Regions from separate parts of the Homo sapiens genome. Here region 1 is linked to region 2. Evidence: promoter capture Hi-C in human tissues and cell types (Jung and others, 2019). All regions are on one chromosome and are shown on one strand. The core of a region is centred on a gene start or on the middle of the fragment in contact, and the rest is flanking DNA. Distances in the headings are between cores, read along the strand shown. Region 1 has its middle 6.4 kb from the start of HSPB1. Region 2 holds the start of UPK3B (uroplakin 3B).

What was found. The method cuts DNA at HindIII sites, captures the fragments that hold promoters and counts their contacts. A contact is called where the count stands out against the background at its distance.
Region 1: a fragment that was not itself captured here is called in contact with the fragment with the promoter of UPK3B in region 2 in 1 of the 25 tissues and cell types used here (spleen).

Annotation. Positions count from the first base shown.
Region 1 is chr7:76,307,268-76,310,976 of GRCh38, reverse strand. No RefSeq gene overlaps it. Among named protein-coding and RNA genes, the nearest start is that of HSPB1, 6.4 kb to the right of the region's middle. The HindIII fragment of the contact is 4,912 bases long and covers 1-3,709 here.
Region 2 is chr7:76,509,199-76,513,153 of GRCh38, reverse strand. UPK3B (uroplakin 3B) reads right to left here and starts at 2,602. Exons shown (of 6, transcript NM_001347684.2): 1 at 2,417-2,602; 2 at 2,102-2,251; 3 at 1,272-1,497; 4 at 1-70. The coding sequence starts at 2,501. LOC124901675 (a long non-coding RNA gene) reads left to right here and starts at 2,421. Exons shown (of 2, transcript XR_007060388.1): 1 at 2,421-2,630; 2 at 3,046-3,955. RefSeq lists enhancers at 1-586, 587-1,238, 1,992-2,564, 2,565-3,137. The HindIII fragment of the contact is 20,174 bases long and covers 1-3,955 here.

The DNA of each region.
Region 1 (3,709 bases), core at 278-2,777, 200 kb after region 2:
CTCTGCCCCCTTGTTCAGTCCTGGGGCGGTGGGCAGGGAGGGGGAAGACTTCCTTCTACCAGAGTCAGCTGCTGATACCATCACTGTCATCTTAGGCAGGGCAGCTGCTGTACCCAGCTGAGAAGAAGGGTGGGAGGGGCTGTTATGCTATAGGAACCCCGCCCAGAGGGAGTCTGTTTTTCCCAGGGTCCCCAGCTGTGCTCTTTTCTCCCTGGGCTGAGTCGAGAGCCCTGGCTGGACACTTGCTTTTTGTTTGCAGGCCAGCCAGGGAGGCTCTGCCACCCTCGTGCTCCTGCCCGAGGCCATCCCACGAGTCTGTTATTGATCCAGAGCCGTCCCTTCTCAGCCAAGCCAGGGATTCCCGGCATTTGTCACACTGCCAACTCTCCCAGCACCAACTGGCGGTTGGCAGGGCTGTCTCTTGTAAGCAGCCCATGAAAATATGGCTCGTCCTTGGGAGGCACAGTTAGATGGGCAAAGCGAGGTCCAAAGTCACCTGGCGAGTTGGAAAGGGAAAGAGAACCAGAGGTCTCGACCAGGAGGAGCGTGCCAGGAATGGAGTGATCTCTGCTTATGCGTGGGTCTCCATCCCTGGCCTCCTCAGCGCTGGCACCCAGGGCATCGGTTGATGGGTAGAACAGTGCACCCTTTGGGGTGGAGTGCACGCACCCTGCTCCTGCCCTGCCCAGACCTGCTGGGTGACCCTGGCCAAATGCAGTCCCAGTCAGGCCTCAAGTTCCCCTCTGTAAGCTGAAGGGTTGGGCCAGCCAGTTTCTGGGAAAGGTACCTGCCCAAACGAATTAGTCCACTGGGGCATGGAGGGGAACACCTTTTCTTTTTCTTTTCTTTTTTTTTTTTTTGAGACGGAGTCTCGCTCTTTTGCCCAGGCTGGAGTACAGTGGCATAATCTTGGCTCACTGCAACCTCTGCCTCCTGCGTTCAAGCGATTCTTCTGCCTCAGCCTCCCGAGTAGCTGGTGAGAGGTGACAGCGTACTGGCAGTCCTCGCAGCCCTCGCTCGCTCTCGGCGCCTCCTCTGCCTGGGCTCCCACTTTGGCGACACTTGAGGAGCCCTTCAGCCCGCCGCTGCACTGTGGGAGCCCCTTCCTGGGCTGGCGACGCCGGAGACGGCTCCCTCAGCTTGTGGGGAGGTGTAGAGGGAGAGGCGCGGGCGGGAACCAGGGCTGCGCGTGGAACTTGCGGGCCAGCGCGAGTTCCGGGTGGGCGTGGGCTTGGCGGGCCCCGCACTTGGAGCAGCCGGCCGGCCCCGCCGGCCCCGGGCAGTGAGGGGCTTAGCACCTGGGCCAGCAGCTGCTGTGCTCGACTTCTCACCGGGCCTTAGCTGCCTCTCAGCAGAGCAGGGCTCGGGACCTGCAGCCCGCCATGCCTGAGCCTCCCCACCCCGCTGTGGGCTCCTGCGCGGCCCGAGCCTCCCTGACAAGCACCGCCCCCTGCTCCACGGCGCCCAGTCCCATCGACCACCCAAGGGCTGAGGAGTGCGGGCGCACAGCACGGGACTGGCAAGCAGCTCCACCTGCGGCCCCCATACAGGATTCACTGGGTGAAGCCAACTGGGCTCCTGAGTCTGGTGGAGAACCTTTATGTCAAGCTAAGGGATTGTAAATACACCAATCGGCACTCTGTATCTAGCTCAAGGTTTGTAAACACACCAATCAGCGCCCTGTGTCTAGCTCAGGATTTCTGAATGCACCAATCGACACTCTGTATCTAGCTACTCTGGTGGGGCCTTGGAGAACCTTTGTGTCCACACTCTCTATCTAGCTAATCTAGTGGGGATGTAGAGAACTTTTGTGTCTAGCTCAGGGATTGTAAACACACCAATCAGCCCTGTCAAAACGGACCAATCAGCTCTCTGTAAAATGGACCAGTCGGCTCTCTGTAAAATGGACCAATCAGCAGGACGTGGGTGGGGCCAGATAAGCGAATAAAAGCAGGCTACCCGAACCAGCAGTAGCAAGCCACTTAGGGTCTTCTTCGTCAGTGTGGAAGCTTTGTTGTTTCGCTCTTTGGGTCCACACCGCTTTTAAGAGCTGTAACGCTTGACGTGAATGTTTGTAGCTTTACTCTTCAGCTAGCGAGACCACGAACCCACCGGGAGGAACAAACAATTCCAGATGCGCCGCCTTAAGAGCTGTAACACTCAACGGTGAAGGTCTGCAGCGTCGCTTCTGAGCCAGTGAGAGCATGAACCCACCAGAAGGAAAAAACTCCCGACACGCCGCCTTTAAGAACTGTAACACTCACCGTGAAGGTCCTCGGCTTCATTCTTTGAGTCGGTGAGACCAAGAACCCACGAATTCTGGACTCACCGGGACTACAGGCGTGCTACGACGCCTGGCCATATTGGTGAGGCTGGTTTCAAACTCCTGACCTCGTAATCCTCCTGCCTTGGCCTCCCAGTGTGCTGGGATTACAGGTGTGAGCCACTGTGCCCAGCCGGAAACACCTTTTCTTTGCTTTTCTTAAATTTATTTATTTTTGAGACAAGGTTTTGCACTATCACCCAGGCTGGAGTGCAGTGGTGTGATCATAACTCACTGCAGCTTCTAGCTTTTCGGCTTAAGTGATCCTCCTGCAGGTGCGCACCAGCACATGTGGCTAATTTTTTTTTTCTTTTTTTGCAGGGATGAGTTCTTGCTATGTTGCCCAGGCTGCTCTCTAACTCCTGGTGTCAAGTAAATCTCCTGCCTAGGCCCCCCAAGGTGCTGGGATTACAGGTGTGAGCCCCTGCGCCCAGCCTGCAGTGCCTTTCTATAGTTTCCACTACACATTTACAGATCAGGGACACTTTTTTTTTTTCCTGAAAGTTTTGCTCTGTTGCCCAGGCTGGAGTGCAGTGGCCTGATCTCAGCTCACTGCAACCTCTTGAGTAGCTGGGATTACAGGCGTGCGCCACCACACCCGGCTAATTTTTGTATTTTTAGTAGAGACGGGTTTTGCCATGTTGGCCAGGCTGGTCTTGAATTCCTGACCTCAGCTAATCTGCCCCCTTCAGCCTCCCAAAGTGCTGCGATTACAGGGGTGAGCCACCACGCCCAGCCAGATCAGGGACACTTAGAGCTATGATGCTGTTCACTATCCCCCATGTCTTGATATGCCCTCCAGGCCCCAGGGGAGCTACACTCAGAGGTTCCCCCCATATTCCCTGGGGGGCAATTTCCCTGGGAGGGGCAGTATGGCAGTGGGGCTTAGCCCCCATATCAGGGATTCTGAGCTTTGAGGGCTAGTGCCAGACTGTCTGAGACAAGCCCAGCCTCACCCGCATCCCTCTGCTCTTCTGCTTTCTTCCTCCTCTCCCTCCCCTGCCAACCCGTGACCTCTGGCACTGTTGCAACCCCCCAGGTCCTGGTGTATGCATGTGGGAATGGTGGGGAGGTGTTTGGGGGGGCCAGCCTGACCCCTGCCCTGCCCTGGGCTCTGCCATGGTGGCATAGGGCTTCGGTGGTCTGGGGCTCTGTGCCTGGGCTGGAGGTGGTTTGGGGCTCTGTCCCTGGGCCGGAGCTCCAGTTCCCCCAACCCTCCTGTCCCTTGGTGGCTCTCCTCCATCACCAAGAGGCTCTTGGGACCTAGCTCTGGGGTTCCCTGTCGCCTTTCTGTGGGCAGCTTTTGCTTCTGTCTCCACCCTCTCAACAGAGCAGTCGAAAGCTGCACCTGTCAAATCCTGTTGATTCTATAGTCGGAGTGATGAT
Region 2 (3,955 bases), core at 1,353-3,852:
AGTGATGGGGTCTGACCACTTGGTCTCAGCCCTGGGTGAGCCCCTGGTGTCCATCAGGAGGAACTTCACCCTGGGGATGGGAGGTGGTGGGGGAGGAGGGGAGAGCTTCAGAGGCTGGGACCACCCTGGGCAGGGCCAAGCCCCAGGCAGCTCCTCTGGGGCCCTCCCATGGATGTGGAGTGGGGGTGCCCGTCAAGAGCAGCAGCCCATGGCCTGGCCCTGCTCTGAGAATCCCCTGAGATGTCTCCAGCCACTTGGCCTGTGCCACCACCCCTCATCCCCCCGAGCAATTGCTCTCCAGACACCAGACCTGGGCCGGGGATGCTGGTTTAGGGGCCCTGGTTCCTAAATGTCACAAGCCAAAAGAGCAGGTGAAGGTGGCTTAGCAGGGCACATGGGGCAGGGGTCACAGGCCTCCCAGAGGGGCAGCAGTAGCCGGGGGCAGGGGGCTCAATCACCAGCAGCCTGAGGACCCAGGGCACCAGGAGCCCCGCAGAGGGCCTCGGTTTGTCTCTTTGCAGGGCTGGGAGCTCTGCAAGGCCTGGGAAGCGGGGAAGGACCTGGCAGGTTGGCATTGAAAAGAGTGGCTGCGGGGGATGGGGCGGGGCATGGAGCTGGAAGGCTGAGCCAGGGTGAGGCAGCGGGGAGGGCAGAGGGTGGACCTGGAGAGTGGGTGAGAGGGCAGAAGGGGGCTGGGCGGAGCGGGGTGCTGTTCCAGCCTCACCACGCCCTGCCTTCCCGGCTTCCCCTGGGCCTGGTCTTCCTGAGGTCACCCCGCCTCCTCCTGTGTCCGGACAGTCCTGACCTGGACACACTGCCTGCTTCCCCATCCCGGCTCCACCCCGATGTTGGCAGGCCACTTGACCTCCTGTGCCTCAGTTTCCTCATCTGTAAGAGCGGGTAGGAGCCACCTCTCCTGCTCCCTGCCTAATACCGACGAGACTGGGTCTGAACTCGGCCCCCGAGTTTCCTGCCAGATCTGCCCGTGGTGGGGGACAGGGGCCTAGACTTTGGGGAAGCTGCCCCCTCCCACCTTGACTAAGATCCCGCCTCCCCAAGGTGCCCACCTGCTCCTCCTGGGCCTTGCCCGGCCCCAGCGGGGGTGAGCACTGTTGCTGACTCTACAGTGGAAGGAGCCCGGGCTTGCAAAGGGGAGGACCGGGGCCGGGGACCCCTCCCTGGAAAGATGCTAGAGAGAGCATCCCTGGTCCCAGCAATGCGTCCGCCCCAAGCACAGCCCCAGTCCCAGGGCTCCGGTGGGGACCACCCACCGATAGGGTCCAGGGCCAGGGAGGGGCGCGTTGCAGAAGGGCTGCTGGTGGCAGCCGTGGTCATGGCCCACCCGCAGCACGGGGGCGCCTCCGCTGCCCGCCATGGGGTCGCCACAGGGCAGCTGGTCCGGAGACAGGGGCAGCGTCATGTAGTGGCCATCGGTCAGCAGCTGTGGGGAGGCCGGAATGTCAGCCAGTGTCTCCGGGTTCTGGAAGCCCCTGGAGGCTGCAGGAGGAGAGAACAGATGGAGGTGGGAGGGGAGAAAGCAGCTTTGTCCTTATGAGTGGGGGTTCTGTGTTCGCCCAGTCTCCAGCCCTGACCCCCCATGCCACCTCCTCCCTCAGGGCCCCCAGAGATAGTCCAGACCCAGTCGACTTTGTTACCCCTGAAGGGGAGCTTCCCTCTGGCCTTTTGTCCCCACCCAGAGCCAGGAGTGGGGAGCAGCGGGCAGTCCCAACCTGCCCAGCCCCAGCCCCAGCCCCATTGCAGTGCACCGGCCCTGCCCCACAGGAGGCCACATCCTCCCAGGTCGCAGCCTCGGTTCCCTGTCCAAAGGAAGAACTACTTGGATTCAGAGAAAGGGTTGCAGAGCCCTTGACAGCTGACAAACCCACCACTAGCACTACTCCCGGGATTTGGTGTTCACTACGTGTGTATTTTTCAATACACATATTACCCCTTTAGATAAAGCCCAATTCATCCACACCTACTCTCCCAAAGGCCCCCACAGGGGCTCAATCATTGAAGGCGCTTGCTGGTGAGGGGCTCCTAGGGCCCACCACTCTCCTCAGCCGTCACCCTCACCCAGGCCCCACAGCAGTCCCCGTACCATTGCTGAAGGCCACCACGAGCCAGACGGTATCGCTGGCGCTGGCAAGCCCATCGAAGACACAGCGCGGCTGCTCCAGGGAGAAGGTGGTGGCTGTGACCTTCCCTTCCAGGTCCCAAGCTGTTATCTGTGGTGTGTAGGGCACCAGCTCTGTGGCCACGGGGGACAAAAGGTGAGCCACGGAGACGGGCGTGGGGGTCCCTGGGGCTGCCTCTCCCAATCGGAGGGGGGCGGGCGCCCAGGGTCCAATCACTCCAGCAGGGCCCCCAGCCCCTTGGGTCTGGCTGGACGCGTCCATCCAGGACCCCCACTCACCCAGGCTCAGGCTGGGCCGGAGACAGTTCAACGCCAGGAGGAGCATCTGCAGCCCTAGGTGAGGCTGCCCCCAGGGTAGCCCCATGACAGCTGCCAGCACCCGGGAGGCTCAGGGGCTGGTCTGGCTGCTTCGGGCTGCACCTCACCCCCAACAGCTTGGCCCTGGAGAAGCTGGTTAATCAGGCTGCCCCAGGGGCTGGAAAGACCTGCAAATGTAAGTGCACCCCACCCCCTTCCTCCCAGGCCAGCCCACAGCAGGGAGGAGCTGGGGGGACTCTGGTGGGAGGCAGGCCAGTATCCAGCCCCACTGCCAGGGCCAAGGGAGAGGGGCCACTGGAACCCCAGATGCCAGCCAGGCCATCCCGGAGCCTGGATTGGGGCCCCTCCCAGTCTCTCCGCCCTGGGGAGGAGGGTCTGGCTTTTGGAAACAGGCTCAGGACCACATGCCTGAGATTCCTGTGCCCCAGGTGCCAGGAGCCTCCCTCTGCCTTCTGTCCCCACCCAGAGTCAGGAGTGGGGAGTAGCAGGCAGCCCCAACCTGCCCAGCCCCATCCCCATCACAGCACGCTGGCCCTGCCCCCCACGAGGCCACATCCTCCCAGTTCGCAGCCTGGGTTCCCTGTCCACAGGAAGAAGAACTTGGATTCAGAGAAAGGGCTGCAGAGCCCTTGACAGCTGACAAGCCCGCCACTTAAACACTACTCCCGGGATTTGGCGCTCACTATGTGTGTATTTTTCAAGACATAACTCACATACCTTCACAACCTTCACAGCTCAGTGGCTTAAATATATATATGTCACCCAGGGAGGTCAGTTCACAGCTAACTGGAGCCTCAAACTCCCAGGTTCAGTTAATCCTCCCACCTCAGCCTTCCCAGTAGCTGGAACCACAGGCACACAACACCATGCTCCGGCTAATTTTTAAAATTTATTTAATTAATTTTTTTTTAAGATGGAGTCTCCTTTGTTGTCCAGGCTGGAGTGCAGTGGCGTGATCTGGGCTCACTGCAACCTCCGCCTCCTGGGTTCAAGCGATTCTCCTGCCTCAGCCTCCCAAGTAGCTGGGATTACAGGCATGTGCCCCACGGCCAGCTAATTTTTGTATTTTTAGTAGGGACGGGGTTTCACCATGTTGGCTTGGCTGGTCTCAAATTCCTGATCTCAAGTGATCCACCCGCCTTGGCCTCCCAAAGTGCTGGGATTACAGGCATGTGCCACCGTGCCTGGCACCCCCGCCAATTTTTTTTTTGTTTTTTTTGAAACGGAGTTTTCACTCTTGTTGCCCAGGCTGGAGTACAATGGCTCGATCTTGGCTCACCGCAACCTCCACCTCCTGGGTTCAAGTGATTCTCCTGCCTCAGCCTCCTGAGTAGCTGGGATTACAGGCATGTGCCACCACACCTGTCTAATTTTGTATTTTTAGTAGAGATAGGGTTTCTCCACGTTGGTGAGGCTGGTCTCGAACTCCTGACCTCAGGTGATCCACCCACCTCAGCCTCCCAAAGCGCTGGGATTGCAGGTGTGAGCCACTGCGCCCGG